2 separate regions of the Homo sapiens genome follow, and region 1 is linked to region 2. The links are contacts of gene promoters, found by promoter capture Hi-C in blood cells and fetal thymus (Javierre and others, 2016). All regions are on one chromosome and are shown on one strand. The core of a region is centred on a gene start or on the middle of the fragment in contact, and the rest is flanking DNA. Distances in the headings are between cores, read along the strand shown. Region 1 has its middle 39 kb from the start of UPP1. Region 2 holds the start of SUN3 (Sad1 and UNC84 domain containing 3).

Region 1 (6,644 bases), core at 3,826-6,325, 100 kb after region 2:
TAATAGCTACTCCTACTCCCTTTTGGTGTCCATTTGCATGGAATATATTTTCATACCCCTTTACCTTAAGTTTATGTCAGTTCTTATGTGTTTGGTGAGTCTCTTGAAGATAGCAGATACTTGGTTGGTGAATTCTTATCCATTCTGCCATTCTGTATCTTTTAAGTGGAACATTTAGGCCATTTACATTCAATGTTACTATTGAGATGTGAGGTACTATTCTATTCATCATGCTAGTTGTGGCCTAAATATCTTTTTTTTTTCTCATTGTATTATTGTTTTATAGGCCCTGTGAGATTTATGTTCTGAGGAGGTTCTATTTTGGTATATTTTGAGGTTTTGCTTCAAGATTAGAACTCCTTTTAGCAGTTCTTGTAGTGCTGGCATGATAGTGGCAAATTCTCTCAGCATTTGTTTGTCTGAAAAAGACTATCTTTCCTTCATTTATGAAGCTTAGTTTTGCTGAATACAAAATTCTTGGCTGATAATTGTTTTGTTTAGGGATGCTAAAAATATGACCCTAATCCCTTCTAGTTTGTAAGGTTTCTGCTGAGAAATCTGCTGCTAATCTGATAGGTTTTACTTTGTAGGTTACCTGATGCTTTTGTGTCACAGTTCTTAAGATTTTTTCTTGCATCTTGACATTAGTTAACCTGATAACTATGTGCCTAGGTGAATGATCTTTTTGTGATGAATTTCCCAGGTGTTCTTTGAGCTTCTTGTATTTGGATATCTAGATCTCTAGCAAGGCCAGGGAAGTTTTCCTCGATTATTCCCTCAAATAAGTTTACCAGACTTACTTAGCTCTTTTCTTTTCTTTTCTTTTCTTTTCTTTTCTTTCTCTCTCTCTCTCTCTTCCTTCTCTTTCTTTCTTTCCTTTCTTTCTTCTCTTTCTCTGTTTCTCCCTTCCTTCCTTCCTTTCTCTCTCTCTTTCTTTCCTTCCTCACTTCCTTCTTCTCTCTTTCGCTCTCTCTTTCTTTCTTTCTCTTTCTCTCTCTTTTCTTTCTCTCTCTGTCTCTCTCTCTCTCTCCCTGTCTCTCTCTCTCTCTTTCTTTCTTTCACATCTCACTCAGTGGCCCAGGCTGGAGTGCAGAGGCATGATCTCAGCTCACTACCACCTCCACCTCCCAGGTTCAAATAATTCTCATGGCTCAGCCTCCTGAGTGGCTGGGATTACAGGGGCCTGCCACCATGCCTGGCTAATTTTTATATTTTTAGTAGAGACAGTGTTTTGCCACGTTGGCCAGGCTGGTTTCAACCTCTTGACCTCATGTGATCTGCCTACCTCAGCCTCCCATACTTAAATTTTCCTTCTTCCTTGGGAACACCAATTATTCTTAGGTTTGATCATTTAACATAATCCCAAAAACTTCTTGAAGGCTTTTTTCATTTTTTAAAATTCCTTTTTCATTGTCTTTGTCAGATTGGGTTAATTAGAAAGCCTTGTCTTAAATCTCTGATGTTCTTTCTTCTACTTGTTCAATGCTATTGTTAAAACTTTCTAGTATATTTTGCATTGCTCTAAGTATGTCTTTCATTATCGGAAGTTGTGATTTTTTTTAAATTTATGCTATCTATTTCTCTGAAGACTTTTTTCATCCATATACTTTATTATTTTTAAATTTCTTTAAGTTGATTTTCACTTTTCTCTAGTGCCTCCTTAAGTAGCTTAATAATCAACCTCCTGAACTCTTTTTCTGGCAATTCAGAGATTTCTTCTTGGTTTGGATCCATTATTGGTGAGCTAGTATGATCTTTTGGGGGTGTTAAAGAACCTTGTTTTGTAATATTACCAGAGTTGTTTTTCTGGTTCCTTCTCATTTGGGTAGAGTATGTCAGAGGCAAAATCTGGGGCTCAAGCGCTGCTGTTCAGATGTTTTGTCCCACAGGGTGCTCCCTTGATGTAGTGCTTCTCCCCTTCCCTAGGGATGGGGCTTCCTGAGAGCTGGACTGCAGTGATTATTATTGCTCTTCTGGAGGTAGCCACCTAGAGAAGCTACCAGGCTCCAGGCTGGTACTGGGGAGTATTTGCAAAGAGTCCTGTGGTGTGATTCATCTTCAGCTCTCTCAGCTGTAGATACCAGCACCTGCTCCAGTGGAGGTAGCAGGGGAGTGAAGTGGACTCTGTAAGGGTCCTTGGTTGTAGTTTTGTTTAGTGTGCTGGGTTTCTCGAATGCTGGTTGTGCTAGCAGTGAAGTTGTCATATGGACAGACTCAGGACCTCTGGTTTTCCAGGATGTTGCAGGTGGTGGAATTAGCTTCCTTTTGGTTGTTTTCTCCTTTCTTGGAGCAGGAAAAAATAATTTTATTCTGAAGGAGAATGACTGGTTGTTCTAGAATAGGAAAGCAGATAAAAACCGGACAAAAACTGAGAGGATATAAAAAATAAAAAATGTTGTAGAAAATTTTCAAAAAAGGAGTTTGTGTGGTTGAGCTGCTAAGATTGAGTGGATTTATCTATGAGTTAAAAAATGATAAGTCTTAGGGTCAAAAGGGTACTAATATAAAATTAAAATGGCAATGTTTTTTCAGATTGTTAGTCTGCTCTTAATAAATTGTGAAAGGTTTTTTTTTGTCTCTGAGTAATCTCCCTAGAAAACAAATATTTTTGTGTTTTATTAAAAATAATTTTCTGTGCTTCTTGTCTTTATCAGGTCTTTAATTACCTAAGGAAGCTGACTCTTCTCAATATTAAAAAAAGCTAGCTTTTGTTCTCACCTATGTAACCTTGTATATTTGCCTTTACAGTATTTTATTATCACTTTATTTAAACAGATAGCTAAGTATTATATAATAATAATCTGAGATTATATCCTAGGATCTGTGATCCTAATTAAGTATTAAAACCTTTTGATTTTTTTTACATCTCAAAATCAAATTCTAAATGTGGCCTTTTTTTTTTTTTTTTTCTTACCTTGAACTAACTTTGATCTTTTCTTGGGGGCTCCTGGAAAAACTTAAAATTTTTTTTGCTCTTACAAAAAGATATATGTTAAACTACTTAGGCTTACTTGGTAGTTAAGTTACATGGAAAACATTGCCAAATAAGATGTGATGTTGAATTTTCTTTAAGTTATATTTGTATAGATATGTAGTATTAATATAAGTGTTTCAGAAATTCTGTGAGGTCAACAAAAATTTGTCAATACCCTAGCTGTTTATGACAGTCAACCATAATGTTATCAGGTGACTGATAAGGACCTCTCTGATGGCTCATAGAACCTCCTTCTGCAATAAACATACACCTGGAGTGAGCTGATAAAGAGAAGATGAGGCTTCCTCAGGTTTTGAATTTTATAATGATCTAAATGGAGAACCTTTGTTAAAAATCTGTGACTTTAATTTAATAAAAATAAAGTGTCCAAACAGTCTCTTAAAATCTTTTGTGTAATGATTGCTTGTGGGACTCTGGAAGTATTGTTTTAAATTGCCTATGTTGTGAATATATTGTTATCCTGGATTCTTTCTCCCACATCCCTAAGCTGACATCTTCATAGTCAAGCTTGAACTTGACCATGAAGAAGCAAGGAAAAATGAATATTCTCTCCAGCCCCTTTCTAGATTGTCTAATGGTCATTGGTTTCTAAATGACTTTGAATACCACTGCTGGTAGGAAAACTCTTACATTTAAACAGGTTTCTCCACTGCAGAACTTGTTAGTAGAACTTTTCATCTGCGCAATTGAAATAGAAATTGGGACCTACCACTGATGACTAATTAACAGCTGTATCCAAATAGGTTGGTGTGAACTTGGAGGAAGGTCATTAAGACATTTGTGTGAAAAAAAATCTGAATGTCTGAGGCTAGCTTAATGCAAAAACTGGTAAAAGCAAATGCACTCATAGATTCCCAGAGCTCTACTGTTAGTGTGCAAAATGTAAACTGTTACTTTTTAAGTGTGTACAATTGTGAAGGTGAGAGATTCAGAGCTAGATCATATCTCCGGGTATGAAGCTTGCAGATGACCAAGACAGAATGTGATCCTTCTTCAACCTGAGGGAGATATTGAGTAGAGGGGAGGCAGGTTGGATGTATTTTTCCAGATTCAAAACAGAAAAGATTCTGGTATCCAGCATATTTTGGTTCAGGGTAGAACTTTAATAACAGGAAGGAATGTTCTTTTCTTGACATCCACTTCTTTCTTCTTCCCTTTGTTGCGGAGACTTTGGTAAACAATCCAAAGAGGTAAACTGTATCAGCCCAGTGATATATCAATGAACACCTTCCAGAGGTCAATAATATTATCAAGATAAAAAATGTTTGTCTTGAATTTTTGATTTTCTTTGAAGAATCTGAAGAAATAAAATATCTTCCAGAGATTCTGTCAAAAATCTGGGAGTGAGTCTCTGAACCCTAGGGGTCTCACACTGTTATCGACAATAGGTTGGATCTGAGATCCTGGCAGGACGATAAGGTCCTAGGGAGAAGAAGAGGGATATGAGAAATAGGGAGCATAAACTTTAAATAATAAAGTTCAGAAAATATGATTAAACATTGAGATTATCCAAGCAGAAAGCTTGAGGATGGCCACTTGGGAACACCAATTCCAAACCAATGGAATCAGCATTCCAAAGTGGAGAAGTTACGGTTTCACATATGGATTAGTCCATTTTCACACTGCTGATAGAGACATACCTGAGACCGCACAATTTACAAAAGAAAGAGGTTTAATTGGACTTACAGTTACATGTAGCTGGGGAAGCCTCACAAAATCACGGCTGAAGGCAAGGAGGAGCAAGTCACATCATATGTAAATGGCAGCAGGCAAAGAGAGAGATTGTGCAGGGTAATTCCCATTTTTAAAACCATCAGATCTCGTGAGACCCATTCACTATCACGAGAACAGAATGGGAAAGACCTGCCCCCATCATCTCCCACCCGGTCCCTCCCACAACATGTGGGAATTATGCCTACTTATGTAGGCAGAGACAGAGAAATTTTACACTTTCCATACAAGACCAGTGCATAGTTACAAAGATTTGATTGGTTACAAATTGCTACATTCCAAGGAAGATTATTACTCGGTGAGGAGGGATAGTGATCTGAGGGAGTCTTATCTCTGGTGCTGTCTGGTCTTCCTAATTATTTACAGGAAGAAAATGCAGCAGACTGTATAGACATACCCCCTTAAGGGTCAGAATAATTTAACGTTACGACAGCTTTAAGTACAATTATTTAATTTCACATTTTCCCCTTTTCATTAAGATCTTTCAAAGAAAGTCTTGTAGATAAACTCAAATGGTTTGGGCTCCTTTTGGTTCAGGAGTTTAATCCCACATCACTAGGAAGGCTAATTCTTAGAGTGTCATGTCTCACAGAAGAAGGAGTTTGTCAGGCTCTAAAGCTGATGGGGTATAGGCTGAATTTAAAGCAACATAAAGGAAGTGGCTTTGAGACCTGAGTCAGGCTGCATGGCTACAACTTCAATTAATGCAATTCTTTGAATGACAATTATTTTAGTTTTTTTCAGTTGTGCATTGACTACATTGTGAAAGAATGCCTCAGCAGCAGTAAAGACAAAACAAAACAAAGGATTATAGTTTTGAGAACAAGTAACCACCAAATTCTGCAAGATCCAAACCAGCTGCTCAGCCAATCTTTTAGAGAGGATATTGGATCTGAAAGGGTAGTTTTTTAAGCTTTCATATTGGTGATTAAGTTAGTGATGATCTGACTCATCTGGGGTACAGACATAACACTCAGTTTTTATGACAGCACAGGTTTCTCCTTGGGCTGCAGTGAGTATGTCTGCAGCCCTTCTCATAAGAGCAATGCCATTGTTTAATAACGAGATAACCATGCAGCTATCATTTAGGGCCTCATTTTATATAGTTGGTTAGGGCCTCTACATGCCAAATGGCATACTCAATACACAGTTGGGCAGAAAGATGGAAGCTAAATGATCATACTGATGGGATACAGAACAAACCCATTGATATTATAAATGAGGAAGATTTGCAGGCCTTGAAGGAATATGAACTGCTCAACCTTGTGCCCAGGCATAACCCAAAGAACACCGTCCTAACCATCCTAGGGGTAAATGTGACCACAGATTGGTGCCACACAGCCAAGATACAGCCATTTAGAGCTAGCCAGTAAATACCCACTCTCTGTGCCCATTCAGGGGCATGTCAATCAGTACTGTGTGATATACTGATGTGGTTAGACATTTCCTTGGTTATCCATCACATATCTCTAGTGCTATTGAGCCATGTATCTTTGGTGTGATTCTTTCATTCCCAACTTAAATCTGACCAAAAGAGGAGGTAAGCCAGCTAAAACAGTTCCGAATTTGTATTATATCATCCCCAAATTCAGTTGCTTTATCTCTCAGTTGGGTCAGTGCCAGCATTAAAGCTAATAAATTGGTCTCTTTTACTGAAATGCTCTTCCCATGTGCTTTGCTTTGTATAGTATTATTAACAGGCCAGTGACGCACGTCATCCTTTGTCATGCTAGTATGAAGCAGTGATCACTGTTCTTGAGAAACATGGATATATTTCTGACATTCTATCTAATCTTGTCTTTGGAAAGGAGATATCCACCATGGCAGGCAGAACCACTGGAGAAGGGCATGAGGCCACATACCCAACAAGTGTTTTTCTGTAATCTGCTAGCATGGTCCTGAGCCCACTGAAAGAAGA
Region 2 (7,353 bases), core at 4,178-6,677:
TTACAAGAGATTTACTTTAGAATCAAAACTGAAATTTATAAAACATGGCTGAAAGAAATTAAAGAAGACCTAAATAAATGGAAGGACAACTTGTGTTCATGAATTGGAAGATTTACTACTGCTAAGATGGCAACACTACCTAAAGCTGTCCACAGATTCAAAGTAATCTTTATCAAAATCCAAACAGCATGATACTGGATAATGATAGACATATAGACTAATGGGCTAGAATATCCAGAAATAAACCCATTCAACTATAGCCAATTCAGTTTTTGGAACAGAGGACAAGACATTCAAAGATTCCTATAGGGAAAGAGTAATATTTTTAGCAAATATTACTTTGGCTTTCCACATGCCAAAAAATGAAGTTGGATCCCTTGCATCATATACAAAAATGAACTCAAAATGGGTCAATTACCTAAATATTATAAGAGCTAAAACCAGAAAACTCTTTTAAAAAGGTTTGGCAATGGATGCTTCAATATGACACCCTCAAAATTACAAACCTTCGTGTATCAAAGAAAGTGCAAAGACAACCTAGAATGAAAGACAACCTAGAATGAAAGAAATGTTTTCAAGTGATATATCTGAGAAGGATTTGGTATCTAGAATATATTAAAAAACTCTTCCAACTCAACAACAAAAGGACAAACAACCTAATCAAAAATGAGCAAAAGACTTTAATGGACATGTCTCCAAGGAACACATACAAACGGTCAATAAGCACATAAAAAGATGCTTGACATCATTAGTCATTAGAGAAATCAAACCATGATGAAACATGACTTTTCATCCATCAGGTGGCTGTAATTTAAAAAAAAAGGAAAAAAATGATAGTGGAAATGTAGAGAAATTGGACTTCTTGTTTTAATCCATTTGTGTTGCTGTAAAGGAATATCTGAGGTTGGGTAATTTATAAAGAAAAGAGGTTTATTTGGCTCACAGTTCTATAGGCTGTACAAGAAGCATGGCACCAGCATCTACAACTGGTGAGGGTCTCCAGCTGCTTCCGCTCATGGTGGAAGGCAAAGGAGGAGCCAGCATGTGCAGAGATCACATGGTGAGAGAGGGAGCAAGAGAGAGCTGGGAGAAGTCAGGTTCTTTTTAACAATTAGCTCCCACAGGAACTAATAGAGTGACAACTCATTACTGTAAGGATGGAACCAAGTGATTCATGAGGAATCTGTCCTCATGACCCAAATGCCTTCCATTAGGCCCCCACCTGCAACACTGGGGTTCAAATTTCAACATGAGGTTTGGGAGGACAGATATCCAAACTATAGCAGTCCTCCTACACTGCTTGTGGGAATGTAAAATAGTGCAGCCATTGAGGAAAACAGTCTGGTGGTTCCTCCCCAGAAATCTCATTCCTATGTATATACTTGAAAGAATTGAGAACAGGTGTTCAAATAAGCACACATACACACTTATGCACAGCATCACTATTCACAATAGCCTAAAGATAAAAGCACTCTAAATGTCCATGAATAGATAAATGGATAAACAAAATGAGGTATATACATACAATGAAATATTATTTAGCTACAAAAAGGAATGAGGAACTGACACATGATAGGATATGGATGAACCTTAAAAACATTATGCTAAGTGAAAGAAGGCAGATAAGAAAGATCACATGCTATATGATCTTTTTTGTAACAATAACTGGGTTGAAACTTTTATTTTAATGGGAGATACATGCCTTAAGTTGTGAATATATTAAAGAACAATTTTCCAGTGTGCTAGGGGTGGTGGATGGTGATATTTCCCGATACGAAACTACAAACTGCACATTCTGCAGTAATTTATTTGGGAACTGTGTGATGAGCAAGAGTCTCTGGTTGTCAAAACCTCCCAAGTGGAGTCACCTAAATTTAGAAAAGGTAAAATGTATGTTTGCAATAAATATATTAGAAATTCTTAACTTTAAAGCAACATCTATGACTAAAAAATTTGCAAAAAGCAAACCACAATTCTAAAAGAAAAATCTCCTTTCTAAATTTTCTATTAAAAAGCCAGTATTACTCTTACAATCAGAAATAAAAAACAAACGAAAAAGCTTTGAGAATGTGCAGGTCACCTCCAGCACTTTCCGTGGCATTTATTTACAAATATGAGTCATTCCGTTGAGATCTCTCTCACCAGGCAGACATAACCTGTGGAATGGTTTTAAGGATCATTACTTAGGAAGACTTACCTACAAGAAGAAAAGTCAGTGTAAGCATTGTACTTAGAATAATCTTCCATGATCGAGTTACCCTAAAAGAATAAAAACAATGATTAGAAAAAGAATTTAACAACATCATGCATTTAACTTGGACTTTAGCCACTACACTCACGTCAACAAACTTACTTATTTTCATTCTTGCTTAATCTAGGTTGAGTCTATGAATTACTTTAATTTCCAATCCACTATTTTTTAAATTGAGAGAAGATCGTTTTAGTGATGATACACACTCACCAGCATATATGAGTGCGCATACATAGAGTCATGCCTCTTACTTTCACATATGCAATGCTTATGCTAGTATATGTCTATTTATATTCTTAAAATACTTATAAGAAAAAAACAAAGGCAGTTTTCTGGAGGTCTCAAATGTAGAACTAGCTACAAAAAAAGAAAAAAAAGAAAAATCAGGTTCTGATTTTATGGAAATTTTGTACTAAGCTAAAGAACTATGACAGTTAAGAAATATCTGATAAAATTCTTTAAAGCCACCATGACCTTTTTTCCTACTCTGTGTTGAAGTACAGTATGCTATACAAATACGATTTGTGCTCTTTTCTGTATAATTGTACAGACCAGTGATGCCTCACAGAATGAACACATCCATGAAACCTCACCCAGGACTGGAAATTGAGCATACTCAGTTCTGTGGACTGAATTGCACCCCACCCCCCAACACACACACACACACACACACACACACACATTCATTTGTTGAAGCCCTACCATCATTGTTACTGTATTTAGAGATAGGGTCTTTAATTGCTAATTAAGGGTAAAAGAGGTTATGAGTGGGACTCTAAACTAGCAGGATTGTTGTCCTTAGAAGAGGTGGAAGAGAGACCAGAACTTTTTCTCTCTTTGTGCAGTCAGAAGAAAGGTCACATGGGGACACAGTGAGAAGGCAATCCAGGAAGAGAGCCCTCGCTAGAGACCAAATCAGCTGGAACCTTGGACTTCCCAGCCTCCAAAACTGTTAAAAAAAGTAAATTTCTGTTGTTTCAGCCACCCAGTCTGTGGTATTTATTATTGCAGCCCGAGCAGATGAATATACCAAGCCCATCAGAAGCCCATCTTATGCCCTTATCAACCCTATACCTCCCACCTCCAAAGGTACCTGCTCTCCTGAGCTCTATCCCCATTAAGTAGGTTTGTCTGGGTTTGAACCATCTATAAATGGACCCATGTGGGTATGGGCTCTATCTGTCTGCCTCCTGTTCCCAGTCTTAAGTCTGTGAGAGTCAACTGTGCTGTTGTGTATAGTTGTGGTTCATTCATTCTTATAACTGTGTAGTATTTCATTGTGTGAATATATCATGTGGGTATCCATCCTAACATTGATGGGTGTTTGGGGCTATGATAAACAATGCAGTTATAAATATTACTACAAGCAATGCAGCTATGAACATTCTTGTACATGGTTTCTGATGAAGACAAGTATGTATTTCATTTAAGTGTATTTTCAAGAGAGACATTGATGGGTCATAGGATACATGCATAATCCGTTGCAGTAGATTTTGCTCAGTGTTACAAAGTGGTTGTAATGACAACCTTTTCACATCTAACCTTTTAAAAAGCCCTAAAGGGTGGATGGGGAGGGAAGCTAAAATGATCACATTAATCTAACGTGAAGGCTATAAACTTCCGGATAAAGTATTACAAGTTGGCAAACTAAAAATTTCTACTTAAAACATAAGAAAAATCACATTAAGATGGACCATTCATTAACTGTATTCACTAGAGTGGGCCGCCTAATTCTCCCAGTACAGAATCTTTAAGTAGCTTATCTACCCTACATAAAGCAGTCATACCTATTAGCCATCCAAGAGTGTGACAGTGTGGAAACCAACTAAGAAGAGAATTTTCTTAACTCTCTTCCCCTCCAGGGAAGTGTATTCTGGAACCTCTTCCTTTTAACTATTATTGGAGATGTGGAGAGTGGTAGGGGGTCCACTGTATTAAAAAAGTTGTTCATAGGTCAGTTATGGTCTACAAGAGCTCTTTTGGTGGGCTGCATTAAGTGAAAATTATCACATTACCATATTTACCAAAGATTAACTCCAGTGTTTTTCGTTTTTTGTTTTTCACTAGAAAACTGGCTGCCAGGCTCTGCATTGCAAAATTCCTTCGGTGCCTTCACCCAGCCAGTGGGATTCTGCCATTTGGGGCAAGCATATTTTGTTATTACTGTGATTTTGAAATGCTGCTCTACTTGTACTAATAACTTTGTAGCATTCCTTTTATTTTTATTGACAGTTTTGTTCTGTGCAAGTGCTTCATTGTTACCAATAGGAAGGTTATTTCATTACTTGTAGTTTTTGTTTTCCCAGCAGGCAGCACATGGGCAGGGCGTTTGTAAATAGGTTTAGGGTATTTGGATTCCCTGCTATAATAATCCCCACATATGTTCTCACTAGAGGAAACAGGGTGATTCACTCAAAATGTGCATCCCCTACCAGAGTCTTTAGTCAATTATCACCCAAGAATGTAATAAATGCCACTCTGTGCCCAGAGTCCTGAGCCCGGTGCTAAGCTCTGCATACCACCAAGACTATACAAGCTAGCCCAATGACAAAAAAAAAAAAAAAAAAAAAAAAAAAAAGTGAATTATCTGGAAGCTTTTAAGTTCCTGCTGCTGTGGCTCATTCTTTTAAAGAGGGTGGCTCTCCTTTCTTAATCCTTCTCCCAAGTCTGCTGTTATTAATCCAGATACCGTTGACATAGAAGTATTGTGATCAAGTGTAAGACTGTGATGAAGAGAAACCTTCAAAGGAAACTATTGAAAATGATTTTCTCTATAAAGGGAGAAAATACTGTCGGGTAACAGGTAACAGATGAACAGACACAAGTGACAGATGTAACACATAAAACCTACAATTTCAGGCACACCGTTCTGCCATGTTTACCTACCCATTCGCATCAGGATTTTCGTCCTCTGATAACAAAGCATTGCCACTGGCGCTACCGCTGGCGTCTTCAGAGCAACGTCTAAAAAACATGGCAGCCCTTCTTGCCTTTGTTTTTCCACTCATGATCCCCTACCAAAGAACAAACAGCTGGTAGGATGAAGAGCAACATTTGTCCTCATTCCTATTTTATGAAAAACATGAAGCTATACATACAGTTTCTAAATTTGTTTTGTATAATGTCTTCTTCCTCCACGGGTGTTTCTTCTTGAAGACGGAATTTTGAAAAGCTTCTGATTCTTCTGTTGCATCATCCTCCGTGACACCTCATAATGCAGATGGCCACCACGCCCAGCCAGGGCATGGACAGGCAACCACCTCTCTGCTTCAAGGGCCTAATTGTACCATATGTCACACCCACTGAATAATACAAAGGCCCCCCCATGTACCTACCGCTTTTCGATAGCAAATCTGGATGTTTTGCTGTGTTTGCTTCAGTGCTTTTCTAATAAAGAAAATATCAGAAATATAATAGTAGACCCCCAAGTATCCCTGAATCTCAGCACTCTTATTTTCCACAGATAACTACAACCTGAAAATTGATATACTCTATTCTCATTATTTTTGATACTTTACTATGTAAATCTGTATCTATAAATAATACCATTTTCATGCTTAAAACATAAACTAAATGTTATGCCACTCTAGGTTTTCTTACAATATTATTTATCTTGAGACATTAACTCCACTCATTTTAATTGCTCTATGGTATTTCATTATACATACATCACAATTCATTTACCCATCCTTCTGTAAATGTATGCTTAGGTTGTTTTCAGTTTTTTTGGCAAGGAATAATGCTCATTGCACGTTGTTATATGCACATCACAAGGTTTTTCTAAACATACACCTAGAAACAGAATAGTTAGGTGGAAGGATGAGCTGGTTTATTTGGGGCATAAATTCTACGATGACAGTCATTTCACTCTCAGCACTTTGGAGATACTACTCCATGGCCTTGTGGATTGATTGTTGTTGATGAGAATTCTGTCTTATCTTCATTTCTCTGTTTTTTTTGGCAATTTCTCGCGTAGTTTTTAAGATTTTCTGTTTATCCATATTTTCCAGTTGTATTTTAGTGTATCCAGGTTTGATACTAGTTTTTGTTTTTCCTCACTTATAACTCAGAGAGTCTTTTCAATTTGGGTACTTGTGTGTTTTTTCAGTTCTGGACTATTTTTCAGCCATCAGGGCTTCAAATATTGCTTCTCTGCCACTGCCTCAATTTTCTTAGAATGGTCCACCTATTGACACTTGTGTCTCCCTTTTGCTTTCCGTTCAACTGCTCCTTCATATTTGTTTTTGCTTTTTTCTCTTTTTACTTATGCTGATTTCTGGGTGAATTTGTAAGTGTTATTTTTCAATTTACTACTTATTTTCTGAAAGCTTAGATTTATACCAAGAAACCCCCAAGTTTCTACTTTTTTACCTACTAGTCCAAAATTCGAAAGTTACAAAATGGTACACAGCAAATATGGCCTTTCCACCCGGCATCTGCCTTCTAGCTATTGGTTCCCCTCTCTTTTAGCATCTATGCTACCATTTATAGTATTTCCTTTCAAAGATGTGATACACATGCACAGTATGTGACATTGTATTATATATGTAATATTTTATAGGTATATTTATCTCTCCACATTCCTAATGGTAGCTTACTATAAACTGTGCTCTGCATCTTGCTTCTTTCCCTTAAACATGTATCTTGGAAGTTGTTTTGATTGTTTGAGATAATCTTCCTCATTTATTTATGACTGAATAGTGTTTCATTGGGTGAATGGGCCATAGGCTATTTAGCCTGTCTCATATTGATGGGCAGTTTGGTATTTAAAATAATGTGCAATAGTAATCTTGTATTTAAGTTATTATCCATATGTGTGAATATATCTTTAAGGATATATACCCAGAGGAGGAACTTCTGGGTCAAAGTCTATGTGTATTTTTCAAGAATAAATCCGCACATATACAGCCAACTAATCATTGATAAGTTTGTCAGGTGTACACAATAAGGAAAGGACACTGTAGTCTCTTCAATGAATGGTGCTGGGAAAAGTAGATATTCACATGCAAAAGAATTAAATTGGACAGTTATCTTACACCATACCCAAATAATACCTTGAAATAGATAAAAGACTTAAACATAAGACCTCTAACCATAAAATT

Evidence for each region. Contacts are between HindIII fragments. The CHiCAGO score rates a contact against its expected background, and 5 or more counts as called.
Region 1: a fragment that was not itself captured here is called in contact with the fragment with the promoter of SUN3 in region 2 in 1 of 17 cell types (total CD8 T cells); the score reaches 5.9 in total CD8 T cells.

The regions. Positions count from the first base shown.
Region 1 is chr7:48,125,322-48,131,965 of GRCh38, forward strand. No RefSeq gene overlaps it. Among named protein-coding and RNA genes, the nearest start is that of UPP1, 39 kb to the left of the region's middle. The HindIII fragment of the contact is 1,123 bases long and covers 4,515-5,637 here.
Region 2 is chr7:48,023,680-48,031,032 of GRCh38, forward strand. SUN3 (Sad1 and UNC84 domain containing 3) reads right to left here and starts at 5,428. Exons shown (of 10, transcript NM_001030019.2): 1 at 5,138-5,428; 2 at 2,198-2,259. The coding sequence starts at 5,259. RefSeq lists an enhancer at 4,619-5,818. The HindIII fragment of the contact is 1,156 bases long and covers 5,422-6,577 here.